Regions from separate parts of the Homo sapiens genome. Here all the other regions are linked to region 1. The links are contacts of gene promoters, found by promoter capture Hi-C in blood cells and fetal thymus (Javierre and others, 2016). All regions are on one chromosome and are shown on one strand. Each heading gives the region's core, a stretch centred on a gene start or on the middle of the fragment in contact. The rest is flanking DNA. Distances are from core to core; before and after follow the strand shown.

Region 1 (3,605 bases), core at 914-3,413:
CAGCCTGGGTGACAGAGCAACACACTGTCTCAAAAACAAACAAATATAGATGCACATATATTTAATAAAGTTATTGAATAATCAGGTATGTCAATATATGTAAAGTGTTCAGGACTGGTGCAAAGAAAGAACTCAGGAAGTACTGGCTCTCATTAAGGCTATTTAGGAGAGATTAGAGCCATGCATCAAGAACAGAGATTCCAATACTCTGCCTTTTATCAGGCCCCTTCTGTACTCACTCATAACCCCTTGCTTTCTGAAGGCTCCCCACCTTTGCCCTCCCGTCCCCCAGAGCTGACCTCCTCTTGGTACCCACTCCACCAAGGCTGAGTAGTCTTCACTGCACTCCCCTGGGCTGGGAGTCTCTTACACCTGCAAGATACATCCCAGAGAGGCTGGGCATGGTCACTCATGCCTGTGGTCCCAGCACTTTGGGAGGCTGGGGCAGGCAGATCAGATCTTGAGGTCAGGAGTTTGAGACCAGCCTGGCCAAGATGGTGAAACCCCGTCTCTACTAAAAATACAAAAAAAAAATTTAGCCGGGCGTGGTGGTGCACACCTGCAGTCCCAGCTACTTGGGAGGCTGAGGCAGAAGAATCGCTTGAACCTGGGAGGTGGAGGTTGTAGTGAGCGGAGAGTGCGCCACTGCACTCCGGCCTGGGCAACAGAGCAAGCCTCCATCTCAAAAAAAAAAAAAAAAAAAAAAAAAAAAAAAATCCCAGAAAAAGGCCCCATCCATGGGCTGGATGCTCACTGCCTGGACTCCAGATAGCAGGTGCCTGTGATCCAAACCGAGGATGTTAGAGGGGCATACATACTGAAGCAGTGTCTGGTATCCATTCATTCATCAGATGTTTATTATGTGCCGGATATTGGAGTAAGTACTGAGAAGGCAGTGGGGAACAAAACGGAGCCCTGCCTTCATGGCTCTTACCATTTAGGCAACAACAGCAATAATAAGCAAGCAATGATTTAATTTTGAAAGGAAACCAGACCTGGTGGGTGACTTGGGACCCAGGAACCCAGGCATGATGCAGAGATGGGACGGAAAGGTTCTCAGGAGCCCCAGCCTGGGAGGGTGTTAGTTCCTCCGTGAGAGCTCTGCTACACCCAGCCTGGGGTGTGGGGAGGCCTCTGTGGGCACCTGAATCTTCACTCTAGATGCTAAGGTTATTCCGGGGTTGATTTGTTGTCTCTTGTTTCCACAAACAGCACAGTAGAGCCTCCTGCCTCCCTCCCTCCCCCACCTCTTCCAGACTGAGGCTATTTATTCCTAGTGACAAGCCTGAGGATCCCAGGGGGGGTGGCCTTAAGGACCTGGAGGGGCCTCGTGTCCCTAGCAGGCGCCAGTCCTCCCTCACGGACACAGGGAGGAAGCCAGAGGCTCAGACACCGCAGAGGTCCCCTCCCCTCTCCTCCACCACCCCTGAGGTGCCCCATCCTCTCACACTCCTCACACCCCACCCTAGAAGCCCAAAGATCATGGGGCCGAGGATTAGGGTCTCCCCCGGGCCTCAAAGGTCAAAACTATTCCTGGGCACTGCGGAAACCCAGGCAAGGCAGGACTTCTCAGTGTCAGGAGGCTGCTGGAAGTGGGGAGGTGGTTACCCCTGTTTTTGCTACTCAAAGTTGTGGAATAAAACCCTTTGGAGGTCAAGGCCCTATGGTGGGGAGGGGTCCTCTCTTCGTCCCATGTTTTCAGAGAACACCTTGGTGCCCGCTGACAGGCTCATGACAGCAGAGTCAAAACGTCCTCCTCCAGGCTGGATTAAGGCCGGGCTGAGTGTCACCCCTGGGGTAAGGTGAAGGGGTGGGGGGATCCGAGGAGGCCAGAGGACTCCCCCAGTGGACCATGGTCTGCGGGGTCTCGTGTCGCCGGCCTGAGATGGAATACAGCAGTCTCCCTCTGGCAGCTGGGGATGGGGGGTGGGAGGGGAGGAGAACAGAGGCTGCGGGGAGGGGACAGGGGCGGGGTCCCGGCCGCTTGAAGGTTGGGAGAGCCAGGTTAGGCCGGGCGGGAGGAGGGGGCCGGGCCGACTGGCGGCCGAAAGGGAGGTGGGGGCGGGGTCTGGCCCCCGCGGCGGGCTGGGGGGCCGGGGGCGGGGTCCGGGCGGGGCGGGCCCGCGCTCACTTCCTCGGGGAGGGGTTGGGGCCGCGCTCCCACTCGCCCACACGGTCCGTCTGCAGTCGGCAGCCTCGCCGGCAGCTCGCTCGGCCCCCGCTTGGCCCGGCCCGCAGGTAGGAGCCGCCGAGGGACGCGGCGCCCGGTTCCCGGCCCCGCCTGCGCCGCGCGCTCCCCGCTCCCGCCGCCCGCTTCGAGGTGAGCGCCCCGCCGACCCCGGCTCCCAGCCCTGGCGGTCCGCCCCCGCGCCCAGGCCGGGGAGCGAAGGGACCCGCGGAGGGCTGAGGCCAGCCGCGGCCCCGGTCCCCTGTACCCGCCGGGCTCTGGCCACGGGTGCCCGGGGCACGCCGAGCCCGGGACAGCGCCCGCCGGGACTGGACCCCTCCGGGCTATCGGGCGGGGCGGGGGCGGGGGCGGCAGCGAGAGTTGGGCGGGGGAGGGGGCTAAGTTTGAAATAGAAAAGCCGGAGAGAGACAGACAGACCGACCGACCAGAAGCGCTGGAGAAACTGAGGTTCTCGGAAAGCCCGGTGGAGCGAGAGACCGAGACAGGCAGGGACTCGAGGCACAGGAGGCTACCGAGACCACTGAAACAAGGACACACCGGGCGTACAGAGTTACTGGTGGACAGACCCGAGGCATGGGGGCCGTCCTAGGCTTTGTGGAGCATTTTCAGAAAAAGCATACGTGGGACCCCAGCGAACACATTCCCTAGGGCCCTTCCCCGGGCCTTGGAGGTGCCCTGAGGCTTGGGCGTCATTGGCCTCATGCTGAATCTGCTCTCTGAGGCCTGCAGAGACGCTCAGAGACTAGAGACAGAGACATTCAGGCGTGCAGAGGTGGCGAAAGAGACTTGGATGCAGAGACAGAGAAAGGGAGGTGGTGGGGATTGAGACATTCAGCCATGTAGACAAGAAGAGACCAAGACTTGAGATCCACAGAGGCATGGGCCCCCTGGGGGACAGCCAGTCAAGATACAGAGCCGTCCAAAACCTAAAGACAGAGACTGAAGTGTGCCCAGACACAGAGATGCTGAGTGAAGCAGAGACAGACACCAGAAACTGAGACTAAGTGGGGGCAGAGAGACCTAGGTGGTCTGACAGCTTCCAGGACAGCCCCTGACTTACCCGGGCCTGAACCATTGGGAGGTGAGGCTGTGGGGAAACAGAAACTCTGAGCCTACCGATCCCCCATGAGGCAGAGGCCCTGAGACAGTAAGTTCGAGATCAAGAAGAGCCCCACGCACACACACAGCCACCAAGACAGCCCCAACTTATTTTTGAACTCAAATCTTGGATGGGCTGCCTCAGCCCTGGGGGACCCAGGGTGAATGAACTGTTCCTCTCATGTCCCCAGAGCAGCTGCGGGATCTTGCTCCCCAACCCCCTTCCCTAAACTTCTCTGACTTCCAGGCCACATGGGGGAGAGCAGAGCTTGGGGTTGGTGCCCGGTAGCAGAGGGTGAGGGTTGAGGGAGTTGGATTT
Region 2 (3,438 bases), core at 134-2,633, 580 kb before region 1:
CCTGATTCTAGCTCCTGGCCTCCTTGCTGCCCCTCCTGGCCTCCTGCTCTGTCTGCCCTGGATGTCTTTACTCAGGCCGCAGAGAGATGGATTCTGTGAATGTGCTATACACAGCACCTGGCACAGATGCTGCCCCCCATGAAAGTGTATGCTGGTTTAGGACATTAAAAACAGACATTGAGGGCAGTCTTTAAACTCTTCTCCAGGTTGACACTAACCCATTAATCAGTATAGATAGTTGACGATTTTCACACCCATGGGTGCCAGTCCCAATTAGTCCATCTGTGTAGTGCCCGCCCTGGGCAGCTAGAACCTCTATGCTGGGGGAGTGGAGGGTGTAGGGAGAGAGGAGAAAACCTGAACAAGGCCAGTCCAAGGCTGAGAAATACACTCCCTTGTGGGTTTGATCCTCAGGAGTCATTGTCCACAGGCCAGAGGGGAAGCAGGTTGGATGTGAGCAGCAGAGTCTTCTGAATGCTCTGATTTGGAGTTTGGCCCCTGGCCAGAGAGGTCCCCTGGCTGGGTTCCTTCCTACTGTAAAAGATTTTTCAGAACAAGATTCAGGGTGATGTAAATGAAGCCAAAGCTGTGGAGGTGAGAGGAGTAACCAGGCAGATGCCCAGGACAGTGCTCCACTCCCAGGGCCCTGGGGGAGTCTGCAGCTTACTGAACCCCTGGAGGCTTGGCCCAGAGCCCTGAACACAGGCCAGGACTGAGCTCAGAGTGACACAACAGCTTGCATGTTCTACCCACCGGTGGGAGGGGTGGGTGGGGCTCCTGATTCCCAGCCAGGTCCCAGGGCCTCTCAGTGGGTGGGATTGGGGCACAATGTGTGAGTAATGGGGGTGGTTCTCTGCCCAAGGCCAGAGCAAGACAGGCCCAAGAAATCATAGGTTCAAACCTGCCTGTGATCCAAGGCCCTTCTATGGAAGCTACCATCCTGTAATCCCAGGCCTTCTCTCTGAGGCCAGTGAAACCTCAAAGAGGTCTAGGCAAATGAAGGAAGAAGTATCTTGAACATAGAAATCACTATTGTTTCAGTCATTCTATGCCCACGACCTAGCCCATGTTCCTTTACAAATTCTGATGGGGCCTGATGTCAGTGGCCCAGGTGCAGAGAATGACCCTGCCTGGGGTATGTTGTGGGAGCTTGAAACTTCCCAGGGTGGGTGGTGGGGTTGAGAGGTTGTGGACCTGCTATGGTGAGGCATTACCACAGCATCTCTGGACAAACTGAGCCATGCAGTGGGACCAGGTCTCCCCTCTGTCCGGGGTTAGCCTTCCTTCACGGGTCATAGACAGGCGGCAGCATCTTGCCAGTCTCCGCATACATTCTCTGTGCACCCCAATTAGCAATGGGCAGAGAGAGATAGGCCATCACTCAACCAACACAGGCCTTTTGCTGGTACTTACCATGACATAAAAACTGGGACGCAGGAGGATGACCTCTGACACGCCTCAGCTGGCAGTCTCCGAGGCAGAAGAACCCACTGGACTTTGGCGATCCCAGAACTTGAGGACTGTACAGAGAAATTGATAGGGAAACCTCAAGCAACGAGAAACGTGTTTTCTCTTCATCAATGGGCTGTGAAAAAAGGAATCCCTGGAAGAGAGTTACAGGACTTTTTGAGAGAGCACTTTAGAAAGATTCTCTATAAACAAATGTTTTAGGGGAAAATATTAATTCATTTTAGAAGAGAATGTTAATTCATGGCATTATTCCCAAGTCCAAGAGTCCATATGTAATTCCATCTATGGTTGCACATAAGACATTTGGGAAGATGAGAATGTGCGTGCATTACAGGACACCAAACAAACCAACAGTGATGGAGACAGCATGCCCTGAGTTTGGAATGCCTTAGAGAGCTTGGCAGAAATGCAGGGATGTTCAGGGTTGTTTAGGAGTGGGATTACCAGACACTCCTGACAGAAAAGGATAAAGAGAAAGCATCCTTCATATGTCTGGCAGGACTTAGCAGATGGAGAGGACACATCTGGATTTCTGGGCCTGGCCAGTTGCCAGTGGCTGTTGGGGAGGAACCAATGGGAAGTCCAATGTATTTGCAAAATGTCACTCACTTATAAGGACTCAGTGAAGCAGGAGCTTCTGTAAAGTGCAGGACAATTTTGAGGAGATGGAGTTGAAATCATCGTTCACTGGGCAGTGTTCATTCTTTGGTGCTATGTAGAATACAGCTTTATTTATTTATTTATTTATTTTTTGAGACAGGGTCTCTCTCTGTCACCTAGGCTGGAGTGCAGTGGTGCAATCACCGGTCACTGTAACTTCTACCTCCTGGGCTCAAGCCATCCTCCCACCTCAGTCTCCCGAGTAGCTGGGACTACAGGAGTGCACCATTACGCCTGGCTAATTTATTTATTTTTGTAGAAACGGGGCTCCACTATGTTGCCCAGGCTGGTCTCAAACTTCTGGGCTCAAGTGATCCCCTCACCTTGTCCTCCTAAGGTGTTGGGATTACAGGCATGAGCCACGGTACCTGGCCCATAGAGTACAACTTTCTGACAAGGAGGGAGCAGAGATCTAAAAAGGATGTCATCTTTACTGGAAGATTCAGCCTCAGAGGACTAAAGACATTGAGGGGATTTGGGGGATGCTTTAAGCAGTTTGTCAAACGTTATCCTAACAAGGAGCAAACTTCCCACAGATTTGATCTGTGTCTTGCTGCAGTAGGGGCTCCTGACAGCAAGGGGGCAGCCAAGAGCAGCCCTGGGGTGGAGAGGGAGGCTAGAAATCACTGGCCCACGGACCCAGCCAGGGAACCAGGCAGAAGCCTGCAGGCAGGCATTCGGGACCGAGGAAGTCAGCACCCCAAATGACTCTGAGAGCTCCAAGACTGCCTTCCCTCTACACACTGCTGCCATCTTGGAAGGACTAGAGACCGTGCTAAGCCAGGAGGATCCTGGGAAAGGAAACCTGTGTTTTGGTTGTGGCCCAGCACATAACAAGGAGGAACCAACTGTGGTTCCTGGAATCTCATGGGTCCCCCATTCCCAGTGTAGGGGAAGCTGTCCAATTCCCAAGGTTGGCAGTTTCCATCGGGCCCCTGTTCTCTCCTTTTGTGGATGATCTATCTAGCACAGTGTTTCTCAGCCAGGGATAATTCCCTGCCCCGCCCCCATCGACACTCCCACCTCCCCGTAACCCACCCACCCACCCCGTGCTCCACTGTGCCCCATCCCCAGGGGATGTTTGGCATTGCCGGGAGATTTTTGGTTGTTACAACTTGCGGGAAGGGTGCTCCTAGCATCTAGGAGATGGAGGCCAGGGATGATGGTAGGCACGCACAGGATGGCCTCACAACAAAAAATTATCCATCTCAAAATGCCAACAGTGCTGAGGCTGAGAAACTCTGACCCAGAATTATCTTGCTGAGTTTGTTTTCAAAGGCAAGTGCCAGGCTTCAGGCTAATTTTGCC
Region 3 (3,638 bases), core at 19-2,518, 850 kb before region 1:
TGGAGTACTGTGTTTTATTTACCTTGATTTTCACCTCTACAGCAAAACTTGGGTACGTTGACTGTAGGTTTTTAGTAAACTAATTTCAGTTATTCACATTTGTTACTGAGAAAACCTTGAGAGTAATTGTTCACTTTTCTCTTCTAGACAGTAAGAGGCAAAGTAGTTTTATGTTAGAACTGTGTAGGTTGTGATTATTGTGATCCTTTTTTTTTTGTTTGTTTGTTATGGAGTCTTGCTCATCGCCCAGGCTGGAGGGCAGTGGTGTGATCTTCACTCACTGCAGCCTCCACCTCCTGGGTTCAAGTGATTCTCCTGCCTCAGCTTCCCAAGTAGCTGGGACTACAGGCGTGCACCACCACGCCCGACTAATTTTGGTATTTTTAGTGGGGATGGGGTTTCACCATATTGGTCAGGCTGGTCTCGAACTCCTGACCTCAAGTGATCCGCCCGCCTCGGCCGCCTAAAGTGCTGGGATTGAAGGCGTGAGCCACCGCACCCGGGCCGATTATTGTGACTCTTAACAATTGCCTTTACGTTTCTTTTCTCATGAGAGCTATCTTTTCCCTGTCAGTCCCCGTGGCCTCCCCCTGGACGTTTTCACTTTCTACTTGGTATAGTTACTGCCCTTCTTAGACTGCAAAGTCAGTGAGGGCAGAGTCCAGTCTGTTTCACTTTTTAAATTACTCCTCAGAGCCTGAGGTAGGCATTCAAGTAATTTTTGAATAAACCAGACTTCTTAAGCTTTAGCTGTAAGACTTTTATAATCTTAAAGCAGATTTTGGTAGAATTAATGTTAGCTTTCCCCCAGAAAAACTAATGGAGGTGATAGAGATTGCTACTATTAGTACTGAGTATGGTGCATAGAACATAGGAGAAAAGATTTAGCTCCAAAATAGATTTAATGGAAATTAATTTGGTGTCTTCTTTTGTCAAAAATAAAGGGATAGTGAATACCAATGGATTCACCATTCAGTTTCTACTTTTCAAAAAAAATTTTTTTTTGTGGGATCAAATGTTTAAATGTTAAACCAGGGTGGAATTTTAAATTTAAATTCTGAAGTTTAATAGTCATAAAATTGCCTGTTTTCTTTTAACAGGTGGTGTTTCATAAGATGTCACCCAACGAGACCCTCTTTTTGGAAAGTACCAACAAGATTTATAAGGATGACATTTCCAATAGCTCCTTTGTGAATTTCCAGATATGGGATTTTCCTGGGCAAATGGACTTTTTTGACCCAACCTTTGACTATGAGATGATCTTCAGGGGAACAGGAGCATTGATATACGTCATTGACGCACAGGTAGTCAGTAATGTGTTTACTCCTCTTTCCTGGTGGGAAAAAGATGTAGAAACAAAGGAAAGTTGTTTATCTTCTTTGTCATGTGGTTGCAGCTTATCTCTTTGGCAGTAGATTCCCTAACAGTGTAAGAGATGCAGTTGCAGAGTGCTTTGGGAGCAGACATGCATTGTGCAGGTACAGAATATCAGATGATTAGGAGATATGGTTTACATCCTTGAGTCCTAGTTGATGAGCAGCTAACATTGGCTTTCCACTTTTATTGGTTGCCATATTTTATAATAATTTTATAATAATAGTGATGTTATTCCCTGAAAATATCCCATCCCATAACATAAAGAGGAATATGAGAACTGAGTCAGTAGATATTAGAGTGAATAGTTTACTTAATTGTCAAAATTGAGTTTAGCTCAACAAACATTTATGGAGGGCCTAGCATGTGGCAGTCAGTGAGATGAATGGGGCAAGTCCCTATCCTTTAAGAAGCTTACTTTTTATAAGCTTAAGCATTAGTTAAGAATGCTTTCTGAGTGATAGGCTCTACAGAGGGTGCCTTCACGTACAGGACCTAATTAATTTAAGCTTCACAATATTGTTAGGTAGGTATTGTAATTCTGATCTTACAGATGAGAAAACTGAGATCAGAGTTTAAGCAGCTTGCTTAAAGTGACACACTGAATAAATGGCAGAGCTGGGATTACTTAAAAAAATTATGTTGGGAAAAAATGTTCATATCATTTTTTTCTTTCTTAAATTAATATTAAAAATTACAAGCATTAACTTGGTAATTGAATTTTTTTATCTTGAGACAATTGAAGAGTTATTTAGTAGTATAGTATATTTGAATGTTTGAATATTGATGATAATTAGGATAGTATTTTTCTGTGGTTGGGGAAAGAGGTGGTTTGAGGCTTTAACTCATTACTTGGCTTTTGTAAGATTTATTTTAAAAAATATTTTGTTCTGACTTACAGGATGACTACATGGAGGCTTTAACAAGACTTCACATTACTGTTTCTAAAGCCTACAAAGTTAACCCAGACATGAATTTTGAGGTTTTTATTCACAAAGTTGATGGTCTGTCTGATGATCACAAAATAGAAACACAGAGGGACATTCATCAAAGGGCCAATGATGACCTTGCAGATGCTGGGCTAGAAAAACTCCATCTTAGGTAACAACATGTGTGTTTGATATGAAAGCCCTGAACAAGGTGTAAATGTATTCCCATCTCTGTCATTACAAACACCATAGCTTTCTGCTACCTGTGTGCCCTTTGCCACATCTTTTATGTTTTTGATCTTGTTGTTGAATTCCAGGCTGTCTGGGGAGCCTGATATTGAGAAATTACCCACTTTTTGCGTTTTCCTGGAGATTGAAGTCATGTGAAGTGTTTCCACTGGTGCTTTTCCAAATTCATCTCAAGAGACTGGAGTCAGGCTGTTTCTTCATGGCATAAATCTGCTTTGGGACTCCTTCCTCTTGGTTTCATTACTTTTCCCCGCCTTGCATCAGTGAAGTGAATCTGTCACATTTGTTGTGGAAGTCTTTAGCTTGAGTCTTAGACAGTATCTTTCTCAGTAGGAACAGCCTTATACAGAGAGTGCACTTTCAAATCTGGACTGACTCTTTTTATTTTTCATTTTTATTTTTCCTGCTGGCTCCCTTCCACCTCCCCCCTGGACTGACTGTAATATATCTTAGCTTTTAAAACACTTTATACTTTTATGAAACTCTATAAAGTTTGGCTTAGGTGGGTTTATCTTATAAATGTGCATAAGGCTGCTATTAAATTTAGAGGACTATTGGTTTGTAACTACTGTTAAGAAATTATTATTAAATAATACCTACTTGATAGGATTGATTTGTGTATTTGCATTCTAAAAGTGTATGAGGAATATTTTTGTACATCTTATTTTATTTGGTGATATAGGTAGAAATGAGTATTAAAAAGTACCCAAGAAAATATTCTCTTGACGATAGAAGTAGCTTAAAGAGGGAGAAGGGGAGAGAGACAGCAAGTTATTTCTCTGTCCCCGTTCTATTGTTGTGACTTCTTTATGGGCTCAAGCTAACTGCTATCCCTCCCCCTAAAATTCTCTGGGTCTCAGGCTCCAAGATCTTTCAGTTATTCTTCTAGGAAACCATGTCGAAAAGTCTCATTGACCTCTAGTTTGCCTGGATTAAATTTCTAAATAATTTGAAAATAATTCATGTTAAAAAAATAAAAATTCAGCAATGTTTGTAGGAGAAAATGTAAGTGGCTCTCCACAAAAATTCAGTCTTATTTTTTTGGGAATCCACTGCTAATAGTTTTTTACCTGGATTTTGAGCCGT
Region 4 (3,703 bases), core at 755-3,254, 810 kb before region 1:
GTCTTAATTCAAAGTGCCTCTCTGGAGAGCTTTAGCAAGCTGAGCCCTTGGGTTTTCTCTGTTGGAACCAAAGCTTTGGTAAGGTGAGGGCTATAGCAGGCTTCTCTGCAAGGCCTGTGGAAGGACCAGTCCCTTCAGAGCAAATATGACATTTTCAAGATGGATTATCTGGTAGATACTTAGGCCTGTTTCCCTACGTCAGGCAAAAGCCTTCTGCCCTTGTGAGAAATGAATAAATGAATGAATGGGACCTCAGGTGTTTTCGTAGCCCTGCAAAATGGCTTCAGAGGTTGGGCTGGCAATTGCTGCGGACCAAATGCTCCTGGGATCTCAGCGATCAGGCAAAGTGGGAAAGCAGGAGGCCTAGCTGAACTCCTGGAAACAGCATACAAATGGATTGTTGTGTGTGCTCCTGGCTTGGACAGCGCAGCTCTAAATCTGAATACAAAACAGAGAAGATGCTCTTTTGCTCCTTTCAGACTAATGATTTTGTCCTTTTTCCCTCTCCTCCTCATTTTATTTCTTCATCTATAACATCTGCAAGAGGGCAGCCAGACTAATAAAACTGCGCTAAGCTCCTCTAATGCCAGCCATTGATCCAAGGGTGGGACCCGATTAATCAATGGGATTTTAGCGGTGTTCACATCCCCGAGGGACATCAGGCCCAAAGACATTTCTTGTCTCCGCAGAGGGGAGGAATCTGAGAACTGATGGAGTGATTCTCTAGCTGTAGATTCTGGAGGTGGTGAAAGGCAGGGTGCCAGCCCCCAGAAACAGTCTGTGGCAGTATCAGAGGGCCACCTTGGGTGTTTGATGGCTTTGCTTTGGGGATGTTCACTTGTTCTGGCAGTGACATCACTGCAAGATGTGTGGGATCCGAGGCACCTGTCACATGACCACAGACCTGAGAAGTCATCTCCTGTAACCCCTGCCATTGTGCAGTAGAGGAAACTGAGGCCCAGAGAGGGAAGGTCATACAATGAATTAGTAATACTGTAGAACTAGAGTGCAAGTCTCCTGGGCTCAGCTTTTTGCCTTCCCAGTGTCTGTAAGGCTGAGTCAGGATCAGAACCTGTTGCAACCATCAAATGGTTGATACAAGCAGTGATAGAGAATTCAGGCAAGATACAGACACCCAAACTGAAGAATTCAGTTTGAGAAAATTATAATGCATTTTAAAAATAGGCTGGATGTTCTTTTTCTTCCTTTATCTTTTTATTAACATTTTTAAAATTTGGGGCTATTACATATGTAAAAGTGCATAAAACATAGATACAATCTGACAAATAATTTATAAGCAAATACCTTTGTAACCACCACCCAGGTCAAAAATGGAGTATTGCCAGCCTCACAGAAACCCACCATATGAGCTAAGAGTCCTTTATCTCAACACTCTCTCTCCTAGAAGTGATCATGATCTTAATTTTTGTGATGATCATTTCCTTGCCTTTCTTCATAATTTTACACCCAAATAGCATATTACTGCCTGCTTTAAACTTTATGTAAATAGAGTCATACTGTGTGTGCTCTTTTGTGTCTTATTTCTTTGATCCAACATTGTGAGATTCCAACACTGTGAATTATTTTAAAGAAATCTACTAGAACACTGCCCTGTGAAGTAAAGTGTGATCCTTAACATAGCTCAGCCTAGGGTATGGGTATTGCAACAAGGGTACCCCAAAGAGGTTGTTTTTGGACTTTGTTCCTGGTTGCTCTGACCAAATATCACTTTTTTTTTTTTTAAGCTTCAGGGACCTGATTGTTTCATGAATTCCCTCAAAATATACACTAATTTAAGGGACATATAATTGTGTGTGTGGAGGTGGTGGGAGGTCCAAGGGGCAAGGGGTGGCAATCCCAGAATTCCTTACTTTGCAAAGGAGGCACCTGACTCAGGTTGTGAGCCCACTGGGAGCAGGAGTTGTTTTATCTGTCTTAAATCCCCAAGGCCCAGGATGGAGTCAGTCTATAGGCGGAGATCAATAAACATTTGTCCAGTGAACACAAGAATAAAGGTCACTCAGCTTAGGCCTCCGCGGGACGCCTGAATTTCCTCCACAGTACAATCTATGACTGTTTCCTTGGTGGTCTGATGGAGGCCCACCAAATGCAAAAAATCAGCTTGCTGGTAGAGGTAGGAACCTTGATCATCCTTGATACATTTGTGTCTTACATTCAAAAAGACCTTAGGAAGGTCAGTATTAACCAGACGTGCTATTTCTCTAGAAACTATATAAAGGGAGTGTGGGAAAGAGAAGCTTTTATTGAAAACAAACAAAGCCTGCAATGTGCTTTTGCAGGGAGTTGTGGGAGAGCTGGGTAGGGCCACTCCAGGTCTCCTGGCCCTGAGGTGGAGGCCCTGTGACCACGGAAGCTTCTCTAGGTAGCTCTGAGCCCACTTCTGGGGTCTCTTGCATGCCTCCTGTCAACTCAGGAGAGGCAGCTGAAAACTGAGCCATCTCTGCTGCTCTGGTCAGCTGGACAGGCTGCATAGTTTGAAGGAAAGTCCTTGTTTTCTACCTCCTCCTGCCTAAGATCAGTGACCCGCCCCCCCCGGGCTCCCACCTTCCCCAGCCAGGTCAGGCATCAGAGAGCTACCATGGCAGCCACAGATGCAAATGCATATTGCTTGAATTATTTATTTTATTATTTTTTTAAAGCTCACCCTTTAATGAAATACCTTAAATATGTAGGGTAGTCAAGACTCACAAGAGAAGGCTAGACTCGATCCCTTCAGCGCCCCTTCAGCGCCCCTTCAGGCTCTCAGAACTTTGATGGAAAACATCCCGGAAGCTAAAAAACTGTATTTACCTTCCCCAGCCCCACCCCTACCCCTATCCCGGACACTGTAATTTAGAAGCACGCGTTTATTTGTAGGATTATTCATCGAGTCAATCTTCCCCACCAGATGTGATTCTCACGATTGTTTTTTGACTGCCAATGGTCAGCTAAGGGTTTAGTAGGTATTTGGCGATGGGGAAGCATTGGTTGCATGCATGATGGGTGAATGCTGAGGGGTCTGACTCGGCTGTGGATGGAAGGAAAAAGACCTCCTCCACCACCACCCGGGTCTCAGTGAAGGACGGGTTGGGAGCGCTCCAACAAGAACCACTGCCTGTCCCCCAGCCCGGACCCGCGGCCAGGGAGGAGGCCCCGGGGAGCCCTGGAAGGCGCCGCGGGGAGGCCTGCCTTCCTGGAAAGCCACGCTTGGAGCTGTCTTCAAAAGCGGCGACGCAGCCCCCGGCGTTTGAGCACGAATAAATCATTAGCATTTTATTTACAATTCTGGGTTTACAATTCCTGGAAAAGGATCCTGCTGTTCAGTGCGGATTCCTGCTTTGCAGGATTTCCCCAGCGCCTCCTTCCACCTCTCGTCTAGGGGGACTGGGTTCCTTAAGACTTCCCTGGACGGGAGTGCGGTGCGGAGTGGATGGGGCGGGTGGTCTCGGGAAGGAGGGGGCGCCGTCCCTCGGTCCTGCGTTTCCCGACGACCCCGAGCAGAGGAGTTGTATCCTCTCGGTTTTACCGAGAAAGGACGGTTGATCAAAGAGGGCTGGGCGTGCCCAGGGTCACACAGCTCGCTCTGAAGCTTGCGCCTAAGTCCCGGGTCTGGGAACCCCGCCGCGCAGCCGCGGACCCGGGAGCCCCCAGCGCTCGGCCCGGCTCCGGTCCCCGACGGCGCCCCGCGTGGCCGCTAGATGGC
Region 5 (3,567 bases), core at 100-2,599, 840 kb before region 1:
AGATGGGGTTTCACTGTGTTAGCCAGGATGGTCTTGATCTCCTGACCTTGTGATCTGCCTGCCTCGGCCTCCCAAAGCGCTGGGATTATAGGCGTGAGCCACCGCGCCCAGCCTATGTTAGTTTATTTTTTTATTTGTGTTTTTATTTTGAGATGGGAATCTTGCTGTGTTGCTCAGGGTGGTCTTGAACTCCTGAGCTCAAGCAGTCTTCACACCTCAGCCTCTCACATAGCTGGGATTACAGGTGTGCATCACTTGTGCCTGGCTCCTAACCATTTTAATCTTAAAAAAATTTTTTTTTTTAGAGTGGGTGTGGTGGCTCACACCTGTAATCTCAGTGCTTTGGAAGGCTGAGGTGGGAGGACGCTTGAGCTCAGGAGTTCAAGACCAGCTTGGGCAAGATAGCAAGACACTGTCTCTACCAAAAAATTAAAAAGTTAGTTGGGTGTGGTGGCTTGCACCTATAGTCCTCTCTACTCAGGAGGCTGAGGCGGGATTGCTTGAGCACAGGAGTTTGAGGTTACAGTGAGCTATGATTGTACCACTGCACTCTAGCCTGGGTGTCAGAGTGAGACCCTGTCTATAAAAAAAAAAAAAAATTTTTGTTTATGGAAATTTTCAGGTGTATACAAAGGTGGAGCAGCACGAGGAGTCCCTATGCATTCAGCTCCTGGGTTCAGCCCTCATTCCCACACACTTCAATCATGTTTCCTGGAGAGCTTCTCAGTTATTATAGATTATTAAGCTTTTTTATTTTATTGTGGAAACTGTCAAATATATAAAAAAGTAGAGAAAACAGTATAATAAAAGCTTTTTAATCCATTGCCCAGATTCAGTAGTTATCAAAATTATAGCCAATTATGTTTCATATTTATACCACTTTCCCTACTGGATTATTTTGAAGCAAAGGCCTGACATGAAATCATTTTGTCTCTGCAGATTTCAGTAGGTATCTCTAAAAGGTAGTGGTTTTTAAAACAATAAACAACAAAATTAACAGTGACTTAATGATATCAAATATCTGGCCAGTGTTCAAATTTCCTTGATTGTCTTTTATTTTACATTTGGCACAGAAATAAATTTTAATGTAGTTGAATTGATCAAAACTTGTCTTTTATAGTTTGTTTCTTTTCTGAGTCTGAAGGTCCACCTTAATTTGGCTGTAACCTACTTATTCAGACCTGATTCTTAGTATTTCCTACCAAGAGTTCTCTGATGTCCCACTCTCCAGTCAGACCATTTTTTTTTCCTGTCTTCCACCTGTGCTGTATTCTCATGGCCAGGTCCCTGCAGTTTTCTTGTGATTTTGTTCCCCTTTTCTGCCTAATTAAATCGTGTCTGTATTCCCCAAGTTCTTTCTTGTCCCTGAAGTTTTCAGTTGATTACTTTGCCCTGCACTTGGCTTTTTCTTTGGATTTCCTTCACAGTTGTAGTCAATTTGACACCAGATTGTTTTGGTTTGTTTCTTGTATTTTGGCTTTATGCCTCAGCTAGCATATCCTGTCTGGAAGTCATGGACCATATCTGCTGTTTCCTTTGACATATTGTACCCTCTATCGTGCTGTGTAATAAGTATTTACTGACTTTCATCAAATCAAATATAAACTATTGAAAGATCACACTATGTTCAAGCAGGCCACACAGTGTATTTGAATATTTTACTTTTCTTGAATGTGAATTGAGTGATTTGAAACTTGGATGCCAGAGGTATTAATTTGGCCAAGGTGATGGTCTAATTGCAATCGCATTTGTTTTCTAGCAGAACGTTATGATGGTGGATATATATGATGACCAGCTGTTCTTTTTTTTTTTTTTTTTTTGAGTTGGAGTCTCGCTCTGTCACCCAGGCTGGAATGCAATGGTGCAATCTTGGCTCACTGCAAGCTTTGCCTCCCAGGTTCACGCCATTCTCTTGCCTCAGCCTCCTGAGTAGCTGGTACTACAGGTGCCCGCCACCATGCCCGGCTAATTTTTTTTGTATTTTTAGTAGAGACGGGGTTTCACCGTGTTAGCCAGGATGGTCTTGATCTCCTGACCTTGTGATCTGCCCGCCTCGGCCTCCCAAAGTGCTGGGGTTACAGGCGTGAGCCACTGCACCTGACCGATGACCAGCTGTTCTTACGATTGAAGAAGTTGCTATCTAGTTTGGAGGCTTAAGAATTTCCAACCAGTGTTTATCCGAGTTATTTTTGGCTGCAAACCCAAATATAAAATTTCACAATTGACAATTCAGGAGGCATTCTTTTCTTTTTCCTTCCTGCAGGTTTAATAGACTACAACTTCCACTGTTTCCGAAAAGCTATTCATGAGGTTTTTGAGGTGGGTGTGACTTCTCACAGGAGCTGTGGTCACCAGACTAGTGCCTCCAGTCTGAAAGCGCTGACACACAATGGCACGCCACGAAACGCCATCTAGTCTGAATCCCAGCGTCGGGGCTCTGTGCCAGCTTACTCTTCACTCCAGGGTCGGATGCCACGTGCTACAGGACATGGGAGCTGCTGCTTGTGGGAATCTGGTGCCTGTTCCACTAGAGACAAGGGGTAGAGTTTCTCATTTGGATGAAAACCCCTTCAACTGGTGGTGTACAACTGAAGCTACTATATCTTTTTTGAAAATGGCAAAAAAAAAAAAAAAAAATTCTGGAGACCACAGAACTCAAGTGTGTGTTTCTCCTCTTTTGGGTCCCCTTTAAGTAGTTGGGATATTTTGGACCTGGAGATAACACCAGTTACCCATCCTTACCAGGGAATGTTGCCATCAATTCCAGTTGAAAATAATAGAAAAGACTGAATTTTTATATGCTTCACTTAGGCTTTCATTTGAGTAGACTCTAAAAATTCTGCCTTGCTTAAGTTCTAACACTGCCTCTCAGATTTCAGTTTTGGACATTGCACAACTAAGACCTTTTAAATGCATTTGCTTGCTAACTCGGAAGACACATAGTCTGCAGCAAGACATTCCTATATTGAAGAAATGAGAGAAAATTTTATGCTGCATCAGGTGGAGAGCAAGGCTCAACGGTGGTTGCATTAGTTCCCTCGGAAGTATTGAAAAAACTTTGAAATGGAAGAAAATTTTTGCACCTATGTTCTGAGTACCAGATGTCTGGGTTCTTTCTTCTGCATTAGATAAATGATCATGCTCAGTGTAACAAAGGGAATTAAAAGTTTTCCCACAGTCCCCTTCTAGGGGAGAAACTCATTGTGTCACTGAAATGTTTAGCTTACTTTAATCTTGATATCAGCCTCTACAGACCTTTTATTCTAAGCTATCGAGCTTCTTGATTGCATTTGGTTGACCACGAGTGACCCTAAGGCATTGGGGGACTGTCCACTGGGAGTTGGAGTGAGCACGTGGTGCTGCAACAGGCATTGTTTTACATACTTTGTCTCTAGTATTCTGACACCAAGTGTCAACTGTGGTACTTTCTTTGCCTAGGATATGAATTCATAATTGTTGCTTTTGTTGATGGTTGATACCCTTTCCATTGATTTAAACCTAACACATTATTTCTATTCCACATGCCCAGTAGACATATATTCCAAAGCCACTGGACCACTTGAGTAC
Region 6 (3,469 bases), core at 567-3,066, 870 kb before region 1:
GTTTCTGCTCTTGTCGCCAAGGCTGGAGTGCAATGGCGCGATCTTGGCTCACCGCAACCTCTGCCTCCCAGGTTCAAGTGATTCTCCTGCCTCAGCCTCCTGAGTAGCTGGGGTTACAGATGCCTGCCACCACACCCAGCTAATTTTTTGTATTTTTGTAGAGACAGTGTTTCACCATGTTGGCCAGGCTGGTCTCGAACTCCTGACCTCAGGTGATCCGCATCGGCCTCCCAAAGTGCTGGGATTACAGGTGTGAGCCACTGTGCTGGGCTTGAAGTTCATTTTAACGTAAGAATTTACAAAATTTGGGCTGGGCGCGGTGGCTTACTATGGGAGGCCGAGGCGGGTGGATCACTCAAGGTTCAGGAGTTCAAGACCAGCCTGGCCAACATGGTGAAACCCCGTCTCTACTAACAATACAAAAATTAGCCAAGCGTGGTGGCACTTGCCTGTAGTCTCAGCTACTTGGCAGGCTCAGGCACGAGAATCACTTGAACCTGGGAAGTGGAGGTTGCAGTGGGCTGAGATCCTGCCACTGCACTCTAGTCTGGGCAACAGAGTGAGACTCTGTCTCCCCCCACCAAAAAAAAAGAAAAAAAGTATACTTTTTCATAGTAAAGTATAATAAGTACTTTATACATATTCATAAATATTACTGAGATGAATTTCTGAAAATGTTCACCAATTGCCAGGAAGAAACCAGAATTTATTTCAAATTTATTTCAATTTGGATTAAAAAAACTAATCTAAATTCCTATGACAGCCAGATCTGTTTCCTCTGGTTTCACTGAATGCCATATCTTACTGAATTATCAAATGAAGCATATTCGTTTTCCTATGTGTATAAATGAGATTTAAAAATCACTGACTTTTTGACCGGGCACGGTGGCTCATGCCTGTAATCCTGGCACTTTGGGAGGCTGAGGCGGGTGGATCACGAGGTCAGGAGATCGAGATCATCCTGGCCAACATGGTGAAACCCCGTGTCTACTAAAATACAAAAAATTATCCCGGGGGGTGTTGGCAGGCGCCTGTAATCCCAGCTACTCAGGAGGATGAGGCAGGGGAATCGCTTGAACCCAGGAGGCGGAGGTTGCAATGCGCCGAGATTGCGCCACTGCACTCCAGCCTGGCGACAGAGCAAGACTCTGTCCCAAAAGAAAGAAAGAAAGAAAAAAAAATCACTGACTTTTCAAGCCAGTAATGGCATGTTGGGGAAAAAGAAATTGACTTTGTTATAACTTTTATATCAAATAATCTTAATAAATAAGGTTAAGATCAGGTTACTAGTTTTAGAAACCTTTCCAAAAGTTCTGTTGAAAAACAACAATAGGCTGGGCATGGTGGCTCACGCCTGTAATCCCAGCACTTTGGGAGGCCGAGGTGGGCAGATCACCTGAGGTCAGGAGTTCGAGACCAGCCTGGCCAACATGGAGAAACATCATCTCTACTAAAAATACAAAATTATCCGGGCATGGTGGTGCATGCCTGTAATCACAGCTACTCAGGAGGCTGAGGCAGGAGAATCGCTTGAACCCAGGAGGTGGAGGTTGCGGTGAGCTGAGATCATGCCATTGCACTCCAGCCTGGGCTACAGAGTGAGACTCCGTCTCAAAAAAAAAAAAAAAAAGAATATAATTTTAGGCCATGCGCATTGGCTCATGCCTGTAATCCCAGCACTTTGGGAGGCCGAGGTGGCCAGATCATCTGAGGTCAAGGGTTTGATCTCAGCTCACTGCAACCTCTGCCTTCCAGGTTCAAGCGATTCTCTTGCCTCAGCCTCCCGAGTAGCTGGGACTACAAGCGCCTGCCACCACGCCTGGCTAATTTTTGTATTTTTAGTAGAGGCGGGGTTTTACCATGTTGGCCAGGCTGGTCTGGAACTCCTGACCTCAAATGATCCACCCACCTTGGCCTCCCAAAGTGTTGGGATTACAGGTGTGAGCCACCCCGCCCAGCCTATATTCTTAATAGAGAATATATACACTCCTCCTCCAGGTATCATGTTTTTTTCATTGTATTGTGATGTCTAAATATAAGTGATTTTAAATTCCTGACATTTAAGTATATTATTGGTAACAGATTCACACTTTGGCCAGGTGTGGTGACCCACACCTGTAATTCCCACACTTTGGGAGGTGAAGGCAAGAGGATCACTTGAGTCTAGGAGTTTAAGACTAGCTGCAGCAATAGAGTGAGACCCTGTCTCTACAAAAAAATAAAAAAAATTATCTGGGTGTAGTTGCACACACCTGCAGTCCCAGCTACTCAGGAGGCTGAGAGGGGAGATGATCGCTTGAGTCTGGGAGGTTGAGGCTGCAGGGAGTTGTGGTTGCAACACTGTACTCCAGCCTGGGCAACAGAGGGAGACTCTGTCTCAACAAACAAACAAACAAAGAAAAAACCCCACAGCTATCTAGGGAAAAAGTAAAGCAACCAGCATATAGAAGTGACATATTGTTATATTTTCACCATAGGTTTGCTTTAAGAAATAGTGCTCCCTTCAGAATGGAAGAATTTATCTGCCTCTTATTTGATGTGGATCAGAGCTAAGATGGCTGACTAAATAAACATGGGGGACTGGAATCTCCTTGGAGATACTCTGGAGGAAGTTCACATCCACTCCACCATGATTGGAAAGATCTGGCTCACCATCCTGTTCATATTTCGAATGCTTGTTCTGGGTGTAGCAGCTGAAGATGTCTGGAATGATGAGCAGTCTGGCTTCATCTGCAATACAGAACAACCAGGCTGCAGAAATGTATGCTACGACCAGGCCTTTCCTATCTCCCTCATTAGATACTGGGTTCTGCAGGTGATATTTGTGTCTTCACCATCCCTGGTCTACATGGGCCATGCATTGTACCGACTGAGAGTTCTTGAGGAAGAGAGGCAAAGGATGAAAGCTCAGTTAAGAGTAGAACTGGAGGAGGTAGAGTTTGAAATGCCTAGGGATCGGAGGAGATTGGAGCAAGAGCTTTGTCAGCTGGAGAAAAGGAAACTAAATAAAGCTCCACTCAGAGGAACCTTGCTTTGCACTTATGTGATACACATTTTCACTCGCTCTGTGGTTGAAGTTGGATTCATGATTGGACAGTACCTTTTATATGGATTTCACTTAGAGCCGCTATTTAAGTGCCATGGCCACCCGTGTCCAAATATAATCGACTGTTTTGTCTCAAGACCAACAGAAAAGACAATATTCCTATTATTTATGCAATCTATAGCCACTATTTCACTTTTCTTAAACATTCTTGAAATTTTCCACCTAGGTTTTAAAAAGATTAAAAGAGGGCTTTGGGGAAAATACAAGTTGAAGAAGGAACATAATGAATTCCATGCAAACAAGGCAAAACAAAATGTAGCCAAATACCAGAGCACATCTGCAAATTCACTGAAGCGACTCCCTTCTGCCCCTGATTATAATCTGTTAGTGGAAAAGCAAACACACACTGCAGTGTACCCTAGT

The links. The method cuts DNA at HindIII sites, captures the fragments that hold promoters and counts their contacts. A CHiCAGO score of 5 or more calls a contact.
Region 2: a contact is called between a fragment that was not itself captured here and the fragment with the promoter of FHL3 in region 1, in 1 of 17 cell types (total B cells). The highest score is 6.6, in total B cells.
Region 3: a fragment that was not itself captured here is called in contact with the fragment with the promoter of FHL3 in region 1 in 17 of 17 cell types (M1 macrophages, erythroblasts, endothelial precursors and 14 more); the score reaches 19.7 in M1 macrophages.
Region 4: a fragment that was not itself captured here is called in contact with the fragment with the promoter of FHL3 in region 1 in 14 of 17 cell types (naive B cells, total B cells, endothelial precursors and 11 more); the score reaches 13.4 in naive B cells.
Region 5: a fragment that was not itself captured here is called in contact with the fragment with the promoter of FHL3 in region 1 in 8 of 17 cell types (M1 macrophages, megakaryocytes, M0 macrophages and 5 more); the score reaches 9.4 in M1 macrophages.
Region 6: a fragment that was not itself captured here is called in contact with the fragment with the promoter of FHL3 in region 1 in 8 of 17 cell types (neutrophils, megakaryocytes, naive CD4 T cells and 5 more); the score reaches 8.7 in neutrophils.

What each region holds. Positions count from the first base shown.
Region 1 is chr1:38,004,072-38,007,676 of GRCh38, reverse strand. It overlaps FHL3 (four and a half LIM domains 3), which reads left to right and starts at 2,163. Exons shown (of 6, transcript NM_004468.5): 1 at 2,163-2,320. RefSeq lists silencers at 2,043-2,102, 2,133-2,492 and an enhancer at 3,345-3,605. The HindIII fragment of the contact is 9,980 bases long and covers 1-3,605 here.
Region 2 is chr1:38,586,511-38,589,948 of GRCh38, reverse strand. No RefSeq gene overlaps it. Among named protein-coding and RNA genes, the nearest start is that of LINC01685, 110 kb to the right of the region's middle. The HindIII fragment of the contact is 4,476 bases long and covers 1-3,438 here.
Region 3 is chr1:38,854,545-38,858,182 of GRCh38, reverse strand. It overlaps RRAGC (Ras related GTP binding C), which reads left to right. Exons shown (of 7, transcript NM_022157.4): 2 at 1,101-1,304; 3 at 2,276-2,475. Among named protein-coding and RNA genes, the nearest start is that of RRAGC, 3.4 kb to the left of the region's middle. The HindIII fragment of the contact is 1,043 bases long and covers 747-1,789 here.
Region 4 is chr1:38,818,330-38,822,032 of GRCh38, reverse strand. No RefSeq gene overlaps it. Among named protein-coding and RNA genes, the nearest start is that of RRAGC, 40 kb to the left of the region's middle. RefSeq lists silencers at 2,502-2,669, 3,560-3,703. The HindIII fragment of the contact is 513 bases long and covers 1,748-2,260 here.
Region 5 is chr1:38,838,401-38,841,967 of GRCh38, reverse strand. RRAGC (Ras related GTP binding C) reads left to right here. Exons shown (of 7, transcript NM_022157.4): 7 at 2,264-3,567. The coding sequence ends at 2,415. Among named protein-coding and RNA genes, the nearest start is that of RRAGC, 20 kb to the left of the region's middle. The HindIII fragment of the contact is 1,074 bases long and covers 813-1,886 here.
Region 6 is chr1:38,875,202-38,878,670 of GRCh38, reverse strand. GJA9 (gap junction protein alpha 9) reads left to right here. Exons shown (of 2, transcript NM_030772.5): 2 at 2,478-3,469. The coding sequence starts at 2,573. RRAGC-DT (RRAGC divergent transcript) reads right to left here. Exons shown (of 2, transcript NR_186075.1): 2 at 2,445-2,730. The region is part of intron 1 of GJA9-MYCBP (GJA9-MYCBP readthrough); the gene reads left to right. Among named protein-coding and RNA genes, the nearest start is that of MYCBP, 3.6 kb to the right of the region's middle. The HindIII fragment of the contact is 8,897 bases long and covers 1-3,469 here.